Linked DNA regions of Homo sapiens: all the other regions are linked to region 1. Evidence: promoter capture Hi-C in 16 types of primary human blood cells and fetal thymus (Javierre and others, 2016). All regions are on one chromosome and are shown on one strand. Each heading gives the region's core, a stretch centred on a gene start or on the middle of the fragment in contact. The rest is flanking DNA. Distances are from core to core; before and after follow the strand shown.

Region 1 (5,094 bases), core at 1,265-3,764:
ATCTGCTTGATGCAATGTCTGAAAGACATTGCAGAAGGTGCAGCCCTTACATGAGCTTTTGAGGGAAGAATAGGAGTTCATCATAAAGATAAGAGGGAACAGGCTAGTCGCGGTGGCTCACACCTATAATCCCAGCACTTTGGGAGACCGAGGCGGGTGTATCACTTGAGGTCAGGAGTTCAAAACCAGCCTGGCCAACATTGGGAAACCCCACCTCTACCAAAAATACCAACAAAGCCAGGCGTGGTGGGGCACGCCTGTAGTCCCAGCTACTTGGGAGGCTAAGGCAGGAGAAATGCTTGAACCTGGGAGTCAGAGGTTGCAGTGAGCTGAAATTGTGCCACTGCCCTCCAGCCTGGGTGACAAAGTGAGACTCCATCTCAAAAAAAAAAAAAAAAAAAAGTTAAGAAGAGACAGAATATTCTGGAAGGGGGAAGGCAAGCACTGCTATCTGGAGGCCTGAGAGGCATTGTGGGTTGAGGTAACCACACCCACTCCAAATTCAGCCTGTGGGTGGACAAGCAGGGAAGGAGAAGGGGAATGGAGAAAAAGCCCTCAGGAAAGAAGCAAGGAGACTGCCAGAGTATTTTCTTGACCAGATCAAGCTAGACCTACAGTATTTTCCTAACCAGATTAAGGTGCATAAACTTGATGCTGAAGTCACTAGGGAGATGTGGAAGGATTTTTAAGCAAAAAGTGATATGATCAGATTTGCATTTGGGAAAGATCATTCTCTTGGCAGTCTGGTGGGTGAAATGGAGCAACTGTCTTTTGTCTTAATCACAATTCCAACTCAAAGATAAATAACAAAACTGGGAAGAATGTTTGTTACAAATATAATACAGGATTGATATTTTTAAGTTATTAAAATTCACACAGATTGCTAAGAACTAGCACCAGGACCAGTCTTGAAAACAATGGGCAACTGGCCTGAACAGCTCATTTCTAGAATGTATTAAATGTCTAATTAACACATAAAAAACTCCAGCCTCGCTAACATATAAAGGCACAATAAATAATAATTTAATTAACTTGACCCATCCCAATAGTAAGGATGTGAAATAATAACTTCTCAGTGCTAGCAGGGATTAGGTGAGGGCACCTCCATTGAGGGTGTGATGGATTCAACATTTCAGGAAGGGACTGTAGAAATATGCTGATACTAGGTCGGGCATGGTGGCTCACACCTGTAATCCCAGCACTTTGGGAGACCAAGGCAAGCAGATCATTGAAGCTCAGGAGTTCGAGACCAGCCTGGCCAACATGGTGAAACCCTGTCTCCACTAAAATACAAAAATTAGTTGGGCATGGTGGCACGTGCCTGTAATCTCAGCTACTCAGGAGGCTGAGGCAAGAGGAAAATCCTTTGAACCCTGGAGGCGGAGGTTGCAGTGAGCCAAGATTACGCCACTGCACTCCAGCCTAGGCGACAGAGTGAGATTCCGTCTCAAAAAAAAAAAGAAAAGAAAAGAAATATGCTTATACCATTTGATCTGATGACTCTATTTCTGGAAATTTATTAAACAGTTTATCAGGACATTATCCAATTTGCAAATAAAGACTTATATATAAAGTGTATTATTTACAATAGGAAAAAAATCCCAAATGTCCCACAATCATGGCAATTATACAACTATTAACAATATTTTGAGTTACACAAAAAGTCTAATTGATTGCTTTTATGATATACATAAGCATAAAATAAATCTTGGAAGGACTATGCCAAAATGTGAATTGAGGCTATCATTAGTTAGTAGATTAAGTGTGACCTCCATTTTATAAAAATATTTTTCTGTATTTTTAAATTTTTTCATAACAATGAGAGGTAGGTTTAGTATAAATTAAGGAATTGTAGGCCTCATGATGAGTTGCTTCAAAAGAAATAATTGTCAGGGAGGCAACTTTTGGGCCCTGTAAACAGAATTCACAGCCTACCCTTAAGACTGGCCTTTAATGGAGTTGTTCCAACAGACACAGCACCTAAGGTGGACGGACGCTCCAATAACGAAGATGGCTATAGACAGAGGCTACTGCTACCTTGGCCTCTGGGCTTTCATTTTTCAACCCGCAGAAATAATAATAGAATAACAATTTATCCTCCGCTGAGTTCCTACTATGTGCTAAGCACTTTACCTGCTTAATCTCACTTAATCCTCCCAACACCTCTTCAAGAAAGGTATGATCAATATTATTACCATTTTAGAGATCAAAGAACTGAGGCTTGGAAAGAGGAAATAACTGGCTGAAGCCATCACATCTCATTTGTGTGTTTCCTTGCCTCTCTTCTCTTTTTCTCTTTTCTGCCTTTCATTTGGTCCAGCTCATCAATGCATATCTTGATTTCTGAGCTGAAGACCACAAATCCAGTTTTCCATCTCTCTGAAAAACTTTTCATCTCCCTTTTTTTTTTCCTCAGAGTGAATATACCAGGCCACCTGGAGGCAGGCTTTCCTGAGAGCACCTCCCGCTTCCTTTTCCTGCTGGCTTTTAACTTTTGCCCCGGGGGCCACAGCCAGCTTTCTCACTTGGTAGCAGTGGCCTCTTGTGCCTTTTTCTCCAAGATCACCCAGGTCAGTATGTGTGGTTACTCTCAGCTCCCTGAGGGAGTGAGCAGCCAGAGGGGCATAGCATACTTCTCTCCCTCCAGCTCCTTTCTCCTTGGTCCTAGGCCCTCTACTCTTCAAGCCCTTTTGCTTGCTTCAGCTCCTGCTTCTTGCTCCATCTCCTCCCATCTTTTCTCTCTTCTCCAATTCATTTCCTTGGACTCCATTTCTGCCTTTATACCCTTATCTTTATTATCATTGCCAAAAGCAAATACCAAATTCTTGTATTTGAAAAAAGACTTTGGCCAGGCACGGTGGCTCACGCCTGTAATCCCAGCACTTTGGGAGGCCAAGGCGGGTGGATCACGAGGTCAGGAGTTCGAGGCCAGCCTGGCCAACGTGGTGAAACTCCGTCTCTACTGAAAATACAAAAAATAGCGGGGCATGGTGGTGCGCGCCTGTAGTCCCAGCTACTCCGGAGGCTGAGGCAGAACAATCGCTTGAACCCAGGAGGCTGAGGTTGCATTGAGCCGAGATCATGCCACTGCACTCCAAGCTGGGCAACAGAGCAAGACTGTCTCAAAAATAAATAAATAAATAAATAAAAAGGAGACTTTTTTTTTAGTGCAGTGATTCCAAGATTTGTTCATCGATATGCAACCAACTAATGAGTGTTATGCCTCACAGTTCCCTTCTCCTAAGTTTTAGAGTTAGAGTAGTGGGTGGGAAGGTGATAACCACAGTGTAAACTAAAAATCCATACTGGGGATGGAGGCTGAGAGGAGGTTTCAGGGGCAAATGACCAGAACACTTGCAGCTGGAAAGAACTGTAGAGAGGACTTTGGAAAGCGGAGGGTTGACAGAGCCGGTAGTTGTCTCCTGTCCATTCATCTCCTAGGCTGAAGCTCCTGAGGGGACTCACATCAGTTATCTTGCTGCTCCAGAAGGGTGGGAGATGGCAGTTTTCCCAAGCTCCGGTCTCCCCAGATGTCTGCTCACCCTCATTCTCCTCCAGCTGCCCAAACTGGATTCAGGTAAGTCTCTCTCTCTCTCTGGGCTGCATAGTTGAAATATATCAATAAATGTAAAATAAACAATCCCACTTGGCTCTCCCTGGAGACCTCCACTGGATCCAGACAAACTCAGCTGTCAAAGGAGTAAGAGAGCGCGGGGCACTGCGCTTTGGCGGGAATCTGGTCGGTGTCTGTCCGTAGTTCCCATCTCCACATCCCGTCTGATCCCGCTCGTTTTTCGGCAGCTCCCTTTGACGTGATTGGACCCCCGGAGCCCATCCTGGCCGTTGTGGGTGAGGACGCCGAGCTGCCCTGTCGCCTGTCTCCGAACGCGAGCGCCGAGCACTTGGAGCTACGCTGGTTCCGAAAGAAGGTTTCGCCGGCCGTGCTGGTGCATAGGGACGGGCGCGAGCAGGAAGCCGAGCAGATGCCCGAGTACCGCGGGCGGGCGACGCTGGTCCAGGACGGCATCGCCAAGGGGCGCGTGGCCTTGAGGATCCGTGGCGTCAGAGTCTCTGACGACGGGGAGTACACGTGCTTTTTCAGGGAGGATGGAAGCTACGAAGAAGCCCTGGTGCATCTGAAGGTGGCTGGTGAGTAGACGGGTTTTGACTTTCTCCGACGACTCCCCTGCTGTATACACTTTCGTATGGATCAGTTACTTTGGAAACCATCAGATTCATTCTCAAAATCTCTTTTAGGTTGATGTCGCCGGGGAGGGACGACTATCTGGGCGGGAGGCGAGGGGGGGTAAAAGAATTTACCAAGACAGTTGTAAAGAAAGGCAGATTTACTTTTAAAAGTATGAAAATACTTTTCGAGGAGGCAAAAGGCAGGATCAGCAAAAGAGAAGCTGACTGCCAGGAAACAAAGGCTTGCTGGATAATTTATAGAATAGTTTTTATGCTGTCTGTTGAAGATGGCTTTGTGCAGTATCTATAAGGCAAAGGTTGCAGTGAGCTAACTTGCAGGTGTTTGGTGATAGTTGGACACAGGAAGGATGACTGTGAGTTATTTGCACAGGAGGGCTGTGTACTGGACCATGAAGAAAGGCAGACTTGCAGCTTATCTGCCTTATCTCTTTGTTTTCCCCTGATTAGGACTCCACAGCTAGAAGGTACTGAAGGTCCTACAGTAGGAAATCAGTGAGAAAGGGTTTTGAGTTGAACATGGAGAGAACAGTGCAATGTCTTTATTGTAGAACTTTATTTCAATTATCTCCAGCCCTTTTTCAATAATAGGGTAAGCATTTCTTCATGAAATAATTAAATACATATAAGAGTTATATAACATTCTTTTATACAAGTACACCATAATTTACTTCATCGAGTCCCTGAATTGTACATTTAAATTGTATTTCTCACCATTACACATCTTATGGCTGTGGTGAGCATACCACACACTTTAAGGCTGGCTTATGGATTAGTTTCTAAAGACTGACATCCTAAGATTAGAGAGCATGGCGGTTTGTCACATTCCTGATTCATATAGAAAAGATTCTGTTCTTGTTCCCTTTTTTGCTTCAAGCCAGAATTCAA
Region 2 (5,094 bases), core at 1,608-4,107, 200 kb before region 1:
CAAGACAGGGGAATTTGTGGATAAGCATTTTTGGGGAGCTCTGTGAGGGTCAAAAATCTCAAGGCAGCAGTTGAAATTTTAGGTCTTACAATACCTAAAATTGGTTTGGAGTTATGGCAGAACAAAAAGGGAAAGAACAGGTCATAAGGGCGTGAGTATACAAGGCAAACACTTGGATTTTATTTTTCAGTGGGCAATAGGAAACCACTGACCAATTGTGAGCAAAGAATATTATTCCAGTTCTCTTCTGAGAAAAAAAAGTCTCTGTCCCATTCCAGGAGGTGCAGCAATCAATCAATCAATCAATAAGGGGGGAAATAAAGGAAAAAAGTCTTTAGAGTTTTCATGTTTATGATCTGGTCCTTGATTGGTTTATTTTTCAGCAAGTCACTTCTTTTCTAACTTGGGAAAGGGAAAGTTTGGGACTGTATATATTTATTTAAATCTGACCACTCCACACTAGTCATCTCCACTTGAATGTTCAATACACAACTTGAAGTAAATGCTGAAACAGATTCTAGATCCCCACCACACACATACACACTCCACTCTCAAAATGCTCTTTCTGAAGTCATTCCTGTCTCAGTAAATGCAAACTGTGTTGTTACAGCAAAAGAAACTGGAGATATATATGACTTTTCTATTTATTTCACACCAATTTAATCACAAACCCTTTAAAACATACCCAGAATTCAACCACTCCTTGATACTTCTACAAACACTACCCATAATGGTTTATGGGTCATCCAGATATTATAATAGCCTTTCAATCAATCTTCTCCAGGAAGGAGAAAGAGAGAGCAACAAAGATTTTTGCAGAATAGAAGAATATTGTTAAATAATTATCACATTGGCCGGGCGTGGTGGCTCACGCCTGTAATCCCAGTACTTTGAGAGGTCAAGGTGGGAGGATCAGCTCAGGTCAGGAGTTCGAGACCAACCTGGCCAACATAGTGAAACCCCGTCTCTACTAAAAATACAAAAATTAGCCAGGCATTGGTGGTGGGCGCCTGTAATCCCAGCTACTTGGGAGGCTGAGGCAGGAGAATCGCTTGAACCTGGAAGGCAGAGGTTTCGGTGAGCTGAGATGGTGCCACTGCACTCCAGCCTAGGCCACAGAGTGAGACTCTGTCTCAAAAATAATAATAATAATAATAATAATAATAATAATAATTCTCACATTGAAGATGATTGCAGAATTCGAAAATAAATGAGAAATTCGGCATATTTTTATTGAGCTCCTACTATTTGTCAGATGTTATTCTATGGATAGGGAAAGAAAGACTATGTAAAAGGCCCAATTTCTATGCACCAGAAGCCGCTATATTTGCTAACCAAGAGAAACCAAGACTTATCACAAATGAGCCAGGAGAGCCATTATTCCCAGTATCTGGGGTTTAGGAAAATTAAGGAAATGTCTTATATGTAGGCTGTTGACATTATCTTCAAATGAAGTACTTGACTTCACAGAGATTCACTGACAGGCTTGAAAGAAGCCACACAAAATAGAACTTTATATGCCATGATGGGGCCAAGAGCGCTACGGAACATTATAAATTCTATAAATATCTTCTCCATAGTATGATGCTAATGCATTACATTTTCGTGTTGATTCATCTATTAAATGTAAAAATTGTTAATAATAAAAATTTTTGCATTTCTATTTCGTGTTCCTTCACTTCTTAATATATGGGAACCTCAAAAACTGGTAATGGCTCTAGTCCGCTCGGCACTCCTGAGAAACCCCAAGGAAAGTATTTTCTTTCCTTTCTAAACAGAACCATACCACGAAAAGTGCTCTGATATCACATTATCACAATCAGAGAAAGTACCAGAACAGCATGGAGAGGGGGTAATTGTCTCCGGGGTCTGCAGATATCCATGCAGGATGGCGAGAAAGACCACGGTACAGATGTTGCCTTGTGGTAAAACTGCCTTCCAGGTACAGTTTTCTTAACAACTATCTGGGCAGACCCTGCAAGAACCTAGTCTGTAAATGGTGAATGTGGATGAGCATCATAGGGAAGAAACCTTGAGTAAGCTTATTTTAACATATCCTTCGATGCAGACAATATGCAGAATTTTAGCATCTTTTAGATGCCATAAACTCCGCTTCTTCTGCCTTGGGAGTCAGAACAAACGACTTTTCTCTCCAAGGAGTAGTTATATTACCACAAGACTAAAATAATTGTCGATACCAACCGTTTATAAATCCCGATTCTGTGGCCCCAAATATCCCACCTAATCTAAAGTTTTCATTTTCTCATTGGCGAAAACACGGGCGCTGTAGATGCCAACACGGGGGGTTGGAGGGGGCGGGTGGGGGGAAGCTCGTTTTATTTTCTAAGTATTGCAGCAACAACGGAACTGCGGGGGACCACGTGGCCTAATGGATAAGGCGTCTGACTTCGGATCAGAAGATTGAGGGTTCGAATCCCTTCGTGGTTAAGTGGGGTTCGTTTTCGGGCATGAAAATTTTATTACCCATTTCATTCCAAGAAAAAAATAAATCATACACTCTCTGGGTTTTCTGAATCCTTTTTTTCTTCCATCTCCTCTCCTTTAAAGGGAAGAAGGAGACATTCTCAAAGGCCTTAGGAGAACAAGTGACAGAGTGAAGAAAGACTGGAAAGTCAAAACTGAAATACAGCCATCTACTACTTTGGAGCTGTCAGGTTCTCCCCAAGTTTGGATTTTAAGCACCTGCGTTTCGGTTTTGTAGGCTTAGATTCAATTCAAGGATTCAATTCCTTGAAAAAAAGAAATTCAGATCTATAAGCCAAGCTGTCTCAAACTGTAGCGTCTCAGACTAATGCCAGGCCCCAGTGGCTAGCACAGTAGGAAACCTGTTGCTTCTTCTGATTTAGCACTAGGCCAAAAACTCTTCACATTTCTTTTTTAGTCTACATCCGCGTGTACCAAGGAGTTTTGGCAGCTGCTGAAGCCTATGTTACTAGTTCTTACTCTCCATTTTAACTTTTTTGTTGTGGGTGTGTTGCCATCAAAAGGATGAGAATACCTAATATTGAATTTTATATTGCAAAGCAAAAATATAAAGGTAATTAAAATAGTCCAACTGGTTACAGTGTGTGTGTGCAAACAGGAAAAGACAGGGAACACAGCTGTGCAAAATATATAAAAAACATTTTGTATTCCTAAATAACATTTTGTGTGCCTGAATTTAATAATAATTTAGGATTAAGGAAAAGTAATTTCCAATTGCTGACATCATGATGAAACATAAGACATTTGACTCCATCCAGATGAGATCATTGATTCAAATCACATGGAGTCCATAAGTGTGTTTCTAGATCAAAGCAAAGAATATTAAAATTAGTAATAATTACCTCTCCCTGTCCCCAGCTTCTTCCATAGCTCTGTTTGATTCTGGTTTCCTCTAGTCATCTGTAGATTCCAAGTTGTATAAAAAATGTGGGGATTGAGCATTGGTTTCCAGACTTTGAAATTTATTGGATTAGAAAGTGTCAATGTCCTAATGTCATGCAAAACCATGTTCTGCCTTGTTAATGGCAAAACCCACCATTTGCACTGAGCATCCTTTTATAAACTAGAAAAAGGATATAACCTCAAAAGAAGAGTAACCTTTTAAAATGAATACAGTGATACTTGAGAATTACATAGCCCACCTTTTTTCTTGATTCTAAGAACAGGAAAAAGCTTCCTCCTCTCTCTCTGATCAGTATGTAACCCTGTGTACCAGAGGATGAACAAGACTTTTTCCAGGGGCCCCACAGCCTCCCTCAAGCATTTAATGAAAGTGGAAATTCTGATGCAAGAATATAAAAATTTGCCTGTCATAACCCTTTCTCTCTTCTTTTTCTTTCTTTCTCTACTGCACTGATAGCAAAGAATGCCAAAAGGAGGAGAGAGACTTTCCAGACTGGGAAGTGCCAAAAGGGAGAAAACTGAAAAAGATAGGGAAATCTGTGGACATCCTGAGTCTTAAATGGTCACCGTGATTTAGGAACTTGTCCCAAATCCACCAAATAAAAATATATGCACCCTTTGATGAATGTGTAAGCCTTTCTGCTTTGAGAGTGGGATTCAGAAAATAAATAAATAAATAACATGAAAAACATCTTTTGGAGCTGGATTAAAAAAAAGCAACTGGAAGAAAATAAATCAAGAAGAAAGATTTCTAGATGTGTATCACAAACACTGGGAGTTGGGTCCAGTTGCACAGGGGATTAAGAGATTCATGAATTTAATAGAGTAGCCCCCCTTATTTACAGGAGTTATGTTCCAAGACCCCAGTGGATGCCTGAAACCTTGGATAGTGCTGAACTCTATATACACCATGTTTTTTCCTATACATACACACATATGATAAAGTTTAATTTATAAATTAGGCATTTTAAGAGATTAACAACAATAACTAATAAAACAATTATAACAATCTACATACAGTAATAAAAGTTATATGAATGTGATCTCTCTGTCTCTCAAAATACTTTATTGTACATTACTCACCTATTTTCAGACCTCAGTTGACTATGGGTAACTGAAACCACACAAAGTGAAACCTCAGATAGAAAGGGGACTACTGTAAATGTTTATGGAGCACCTACCCTGTGCCTGCTTCTCTCCCCAGCCACTGTGCTAGGTACTGGGATTCTAGAATATAGGATCTAGCAATCTAGGAACACAGTAACAAAAGTACACAAAAACCCATGTCCTCAAGAGGTTTGGAGTTGAAGGAAGAGAGGAGGAGACAACACAGAAAACACAAAATGAATAAGTAGATTATATAAGTAAATTATACTTTATATTAGAAGAGATATATTCTGAAGGAGTTAAAAACTATGCCCCTCTGGCATAGTGACTATTTTGAGTTAAAGGCACTTGAAAAATAGCAGATGCAAGAATATCACTCTGACTCTCATTCTGTTTCTTAAAAGCAGAATATTAAATTCCTCTGTGAAATAAGTCCTCCCTAAACTAGAATGACAGTATCATTCATTCTAGTTTCTAAGGTAACTGAGGCTGAGGGAAATCTGTGTAAACAAATCTTGTTAAATGAGAATTTATCCTCTCAGCCACTTCTCTACCCAAGTAACTACCCAAGCCCAAGCC
Region 3 (5,094 bases), core at 1,576-4,075, 140 kb before region 1:
AGGCTGGTGTTGAAATCCTGGGCTCAAGTGATCCACTGTGCTTGGCTTTTTTTTTCTTTTTTTTTTTTGAGACCGAGTCTCGCTCTGTCACCCAGATTGGAGTGCAGTGACTCGATCTTGGCTCACTGCAACCTCCGCTCGGCTGGGTGCGGTGGCTCACGCCTGTAATCTCAGCACTTCAGGAGGCCGAGGCGGGCGGATCACCAGAGGTCAGGAGCTCAAGACCAGCCTGGGCAACATGGTGAAACCCCGTCTCTACAGGAAATACAAAAATTAGCCAAGAGTGGTGGCGGGCGCCTGTAATCCCAGCTACTCAGGAGGCTGAGGCAGGAGAATCATTGGAACTTGGGAGGCGGAGGTTGCAGTGAACTGAGATTGCACCCATGCACTCCATCCTGGGCGACAGAGATAGACTCCCTTTCAAAGAAAATAATAATAATAATAATAATGTTTTCATGATGCTTTGTTGATATCTCCTTCATCTTAACATATCCAGAGGCTGCTGGCCATAGTCACGTGTGAATCTTGGGAATAAAGTAATAGAACCATGGGAAGCACTCGCTATGTCTATTGACTTATGTGCTCACAACTACACAGATAATAATTGGGGGCATATTTAATCCACATCTCTCAACTGAATGACAGTTGTCAGAGGCCAGTGATCTGCTATTGCTGTTCATCGTGCCTTCCAGCTGCCTCCACATTCTAAGGCAACTACAACATGTGAGAAGAAATCGATAGGTCACCAAAGTGTGGTATCATATGTTCTATATTATAGAGCACATATGATTTAATAACAACAAAAAGCTTTCTAGGCCAAATGCAGTGGCTCACACCTGTAATCCCAGCACTTTGGGAGGCCTAGGCAGGAGGATCACTTGAGCCCAGGACCTCGAGACCAGCCTAGGCAACATAGTGAGACTCTGTCTCTATTAAAAAAAAAAAAAAAAAAAAAAAAAAAAAGCTTTCTAAGCACATCCGAGAACTGTAGAAATCACTGTGGTCTAACCACCTCATTTATAAATGAAACCATTGATATTCAGAGAGGAAGTGATTTGCCTATGGCTACCCAGGTTTTGTCCTGGGATGACGATTTAATCCTTAAAATAGTAATCTGTTTATGAGTTTTCTGATTTTAAAAGTAATTTGTTTTTATTCTGGAAAATGAGAAAAATAAGGAACTTTTTTGGAGGTTCTAACAAGGGGGTGAGTGCAGCTACTCATATATCCTTAAATGATCCGGCTGGGCGTGGTGGCTTATGCTTGTAATCCTAGCACTTTGGGAGCCCAAGGTGGGCGGATCACTTGATGTCAGGAGTTCAAGACCAGCCTGGCCAATGTGACGAAACCTCACATTGTGAGGGGGCCTGGGGCTAAGCAATAGAAAAAATTTGCTGCTGAGCATTAGGAAGTTTCTCCCTCTCAAAACTGTGTGCTCAAAGAGGATGACCTTTCCCAATAGAGGAGGCTCATTCTTATTTTTTAATTAATTAATTAATTTATTATTATTATTATTTTGAGATAGAGTCTCACTCTGTCACCCAGGCTGGAGTACACCCAGGCTCACTGCAACCTCCGCCTCCCAGGTTCAAGCAATTCTCCTGCCTCAGCCTCCCAAGTAGCTGGGACTACAGACATGTACCACCACACCCAGCTAATTTTAGTATATTTAGTAGAGACGGGGTTTCACCACATGGGTCAGGCTGGTCTCGAACTCCTGACCTCGTGATCCACCCGCCTTGGCCTCCCAAAGTGCTGGGATTACAGGCATGAGCCACCACGCCCAGCCTCTTTCTTCTTTTATTGCAGACCTCTGGGATTCAGTTTACCATGGCCCTTCTCTCAACAGCAGCCACCAGCAAACCACTTAACCCCTTGGGCTCCTGCTTCCCTTCAACCAAGAGCAACAATCATCCTTTTCTTTTCTTTTTTCTTTTTTGAGACAAGGTCTCACCCTGTCACCTAGGCTAGAGTGTAGTGGCATGATCTCAGCTCACTGCAGCCTCTGCCTACGGGGTTAAAGCGATTCTCCCACCTCAGCCTCCCGAGTAGCTGGGACTACAGGCATGTGCCCCCACGGCCAGTTAATTTTTGTATTTTTTGGTAGAAATGGGGTTTCACCATGTTGGCCAGGCTGGCCTCGAACTCTTGACCTCAAGTGATCCGCCTGCCTCGGCCTCTCGAAGTGCTGGGATTACAGAAATGAGCCACCACGCCTGGACAGAAATGTTAAAATTTTAAAAAATTATTTTAATGCCAATTTAAATCTAAAAATTGTAACCTAAGCAGACTCTATATCATCTGGTTCACATCTTTATAATCAACTGTTGTGGAGTGGTTCCAGTTTCCAAGGAAACTACTGTTTATCATATCAGTGACCAATGACTTCCCTAATAACAAATTTTAACTTTTAATGCTGCATTTTTTAACTAGTTCCCATCTCTTTCAGTAGTTAGAAGACATATTTTCAGATGTATTATAAAAATTAGTTTTTGTCTAAACAAGTTTTTTACATAACTCTGCTGAAGAAACTCTGGCCTGAAAGATGAAGTCCAGCTTTCTTGGACTTTTTTTTTTCTTTTTCTTTTTCTTTTTCTTTTTTTTTTTTCGAAACGGAGTCTCGCTCACTCTGTAGCCCAGGCTGGAGTGCAGTGGTGCGACCTCAGCTCACTGCAACCTCTCCCTCCTGGGTTCAAGCAATTCTCCTGCCTCAGCCTCCCGAGTAGCTGGAGCTACAGGCACCCACCACCACACCTGGCTAATTTTTGTATTTTTAGTAGAGACGGGGTTTCACCATATTGGCCAGGCTGGTCTCGAACTCCTGACCTTGTGATCCGCCCACCTTGGCCTCCCAAAGTGCTCGGATTGCAGGCGTGGGCCACCGCGCCCGGCCTCCTTGGACTTTTTATCTGCATTGCAGGCACTCAGTGGTCCAGGCCACCTACTTCTGCTCTACCTTTGGACATCCTGGCAATGTGCTGCTCCTCAGCCTGACCACAACACCTGCAGTGTCCCAAACATATCATGCAGTTTCATGCCTCTGCACCCATTTCCTCTCCCTGGTCAACACACCTGGGTGACCCCTATTCTACTCACTCAGACAAACCAGGACAGGATCCTTGACCTTTCTGCAACTCTATTTTTCTCACCTAGAAATAGAATTAATGACATCTACTTCTTTAGCAGATGTTTAGGAATGAGATACGGTGTGGAGAGCACCTGGTGCGAACACAGCGCGTATCTGTGATAGTGACCGTTAGCCGTTATCCTCATCACCACATCCTTTCCCCACATCTCAGATGGTGCCACAGTCTACCACCTCAGAGAGAAAATAGAAAAGGGAGGTCCCAAACTTCCTGCTCCACCACCTATACCTGTCCCTCATGATCTGTTTCCTCTGATTTCAACAAGCAGGTGTTCTTTCTCCTGTCTCAGGCTAATTCTGCACCCACATCGGGGAGCCCCCACCCCAGCTTCCCTCAGGCTTCTCTATTTGGTCAATTCATTAATTCATTCATTTGACAAGGATCCATGAACGCTAACTATGTGCCAGTCACTATTCTAGGTGGTGGAGTCACAGAAGTGAACAAAACAGAAAGTTCTCATTCAAAAACAACATAACTTGTGGTAGGAGGCAGACAGGAAATGAAATAATTAGTAATATATATGGTGTGCTGGATGATGATAAGTGCTCAGGAGAGAAATAAACCTGGAATAGCAGAACTTGCATTTCTTTTTGAAGGGGTCTTGCTCTGTTGTTCAGGCTAGAGTACATTGGAGTGATCATAGCTCACTGCAGCCTAATTTTTTTTTTTTTTGAAAGACAGAGATCTTGCTATGCATACTGCCCAGGTTCTTGAACTCCTGGCCTCATGCAATTCTCCTCCCTCGATCTTTCAAGGTCCTGTGATTACACCTGTAAGCCCTCGTTCCCGGTTGGAAGTTACAGTTTAAAATAGGGTGGTTATGAGCAAGGGGAGCGAGGCACAGAATACTTGGGAGAAAAGCATTCCGAGTTGAGAGAACAGCAGTGCCAGAGCACAGAGGCAGAAGCACTGTGGTTTGTGTGAAGAAAAGCAATGAGGCTGGGGTGCGCAGAGCACACAGGGTGATCAGGAGAAGAGGAGGTGACAAGGCCAGAGGGGGTTGAGGGCCAGATCATGTATGGCCTTGAAAGTCATCATGCTGACCTGGGCTTTACCTCTGAGAGGGGAGCCACTGGAAGGTTAGAGCAGAAAAAGGACTGGACTGACTTATGTTTTAAGAAGTTACTTCACATGCTAGACCAAGATGGGCTGTGGGTAGGGGTGGTGGATGGAGGCCTGAAGACCCAGCTGGGAGCTACTGCAGTGATCCAGGGGAAAGATGCAGATGACTTGTACCAGGGAGGAGCCATGAAAATGTTATGATGCTGGATTTATTTTCAAGATAGAATAAAAAGGCTTTGCTGATAAACTTACAGGTGGGGTGTGAAAAAGGAGGGCATCAAGGGTGACCACAAGGTTTTGGTCCTAAGAAACGGTACAGATGGAGTTGCCACTTACTGAGATGGGGAAAATGAGGGAGAAACCGCTTGTGGAGGCCAGAGGAGGAGCCAGCACAGAATCCAAAGGTCAGTTTTGAATATGTTGGGTTTGAGGAGCTTACTAGAGATTCCCGTGGAGATGTAGAGTAGGCAGGTCAATAATAAGCTTGCAGTCCAGGCAACGGGTCAGGGCTGGAAACACAAGTTATTCTCTTTGTCTTCTTTATATTCATGTTTGTTGCCACTGTGTGTTTCACTTACCTAATGCATTCGTGATTTATTGCTGCATAACAAATTACCACAAACTTAGTGGTTTAAAACAGTACACTTTTCCAGCCTGGGCAACATGATGAAACCCCATCTCTACTGAAAACGCAAAAAATAAAAGATAAAAAATTAGCCCAGCGTGGTGGCACACACCTATAATCCCCGCTACTTGGTAGGCTGAGGCACAAGAATTGCTAGAACCCAGGAAGTGGAGGTTGCAGTGAGCCAAGATTGTGCCACTGCACTCCAGCCTGGGCAACACAGCGAGACTCTGCCTCAAAAATAAATAAATAAATAACAGT

What was found. Contacts are between HindIII fragments. The CHiCAGO score rates a contact against its expected background, and 5 or more counts as called.
Region 2: a fragment that was not itself captured here is called in contact with the fragment with the promoter of BTN1A1 in region 1 in 4 of 17 cell types (non-activated CD4 T cells, megakaryocytes, M0 macrophages and 1 more); the score reaches 6.1 in non-activated CD4 T cells.
Region 3: a contact is called between a fragment that was not itself captured here and the fragment with the promoter of BTN1A1 in region 1, in 13 of 17 cell types (megakaryocytes, erythroblasts, activated CD4 T cells and 10 more). The highest score is 14.9, in megakaryocytes.

The regions. Positions count from the first base shown.
Region 1 is chr6:26,497,789-26,502,882 of GRCh38, forward strand. It overlaps BTN1A1 (butyrophilin subfamily 1 member A1), which reads left to right and starts at 2,515. Exons shown (of 8, transcript NM_001732.3): 1 at 2,515-2,570; 2 at 3,442-3,577; 3 at 3,802-4,149. The coding sequence starts at 3,499. All of the region lies in intron 1 of LOC107986583 (a long non-coding RNA gene), which reads right to left. RefSeq lists an enhancer at 3,804-3,933. The HindIII fragment of the contact is 5,298 bases long and covers 1-5,094 here.
Region 2 is chr6:26,297,302-26,302,395 of GRCh38, forward strand. TRR-TCG4-1 (tRNA-Arg (anticodon TCG) 4-1) reads left to right here and starts at 2,376; the gene lies at 2,376-2,448. LOC124901287 (a long non-coding RNA gene) reads left to right here. Exons shown (of 2, transcript XR_007059520.1): 2 at 1-1,663. RefSeq lists a cis regulatory region at 1-146. The HindIII fragment of the contact is 1,637 bases long and covers 2,040-3,676 here.
Region 3 is chr6:26,357,625-26,362,718 of GRCh38, forward strand. No RefSeq gene overlaps it. Among named protein-coding and RNA genes, the nearest start is that of BTN3A2, 5.0 kb to the right of the region's middle. RefSeq lists an enhancer at 3,402-3,451. The HindIII fragment of the contact is 3,727 bases long and covers 963-4,689 here.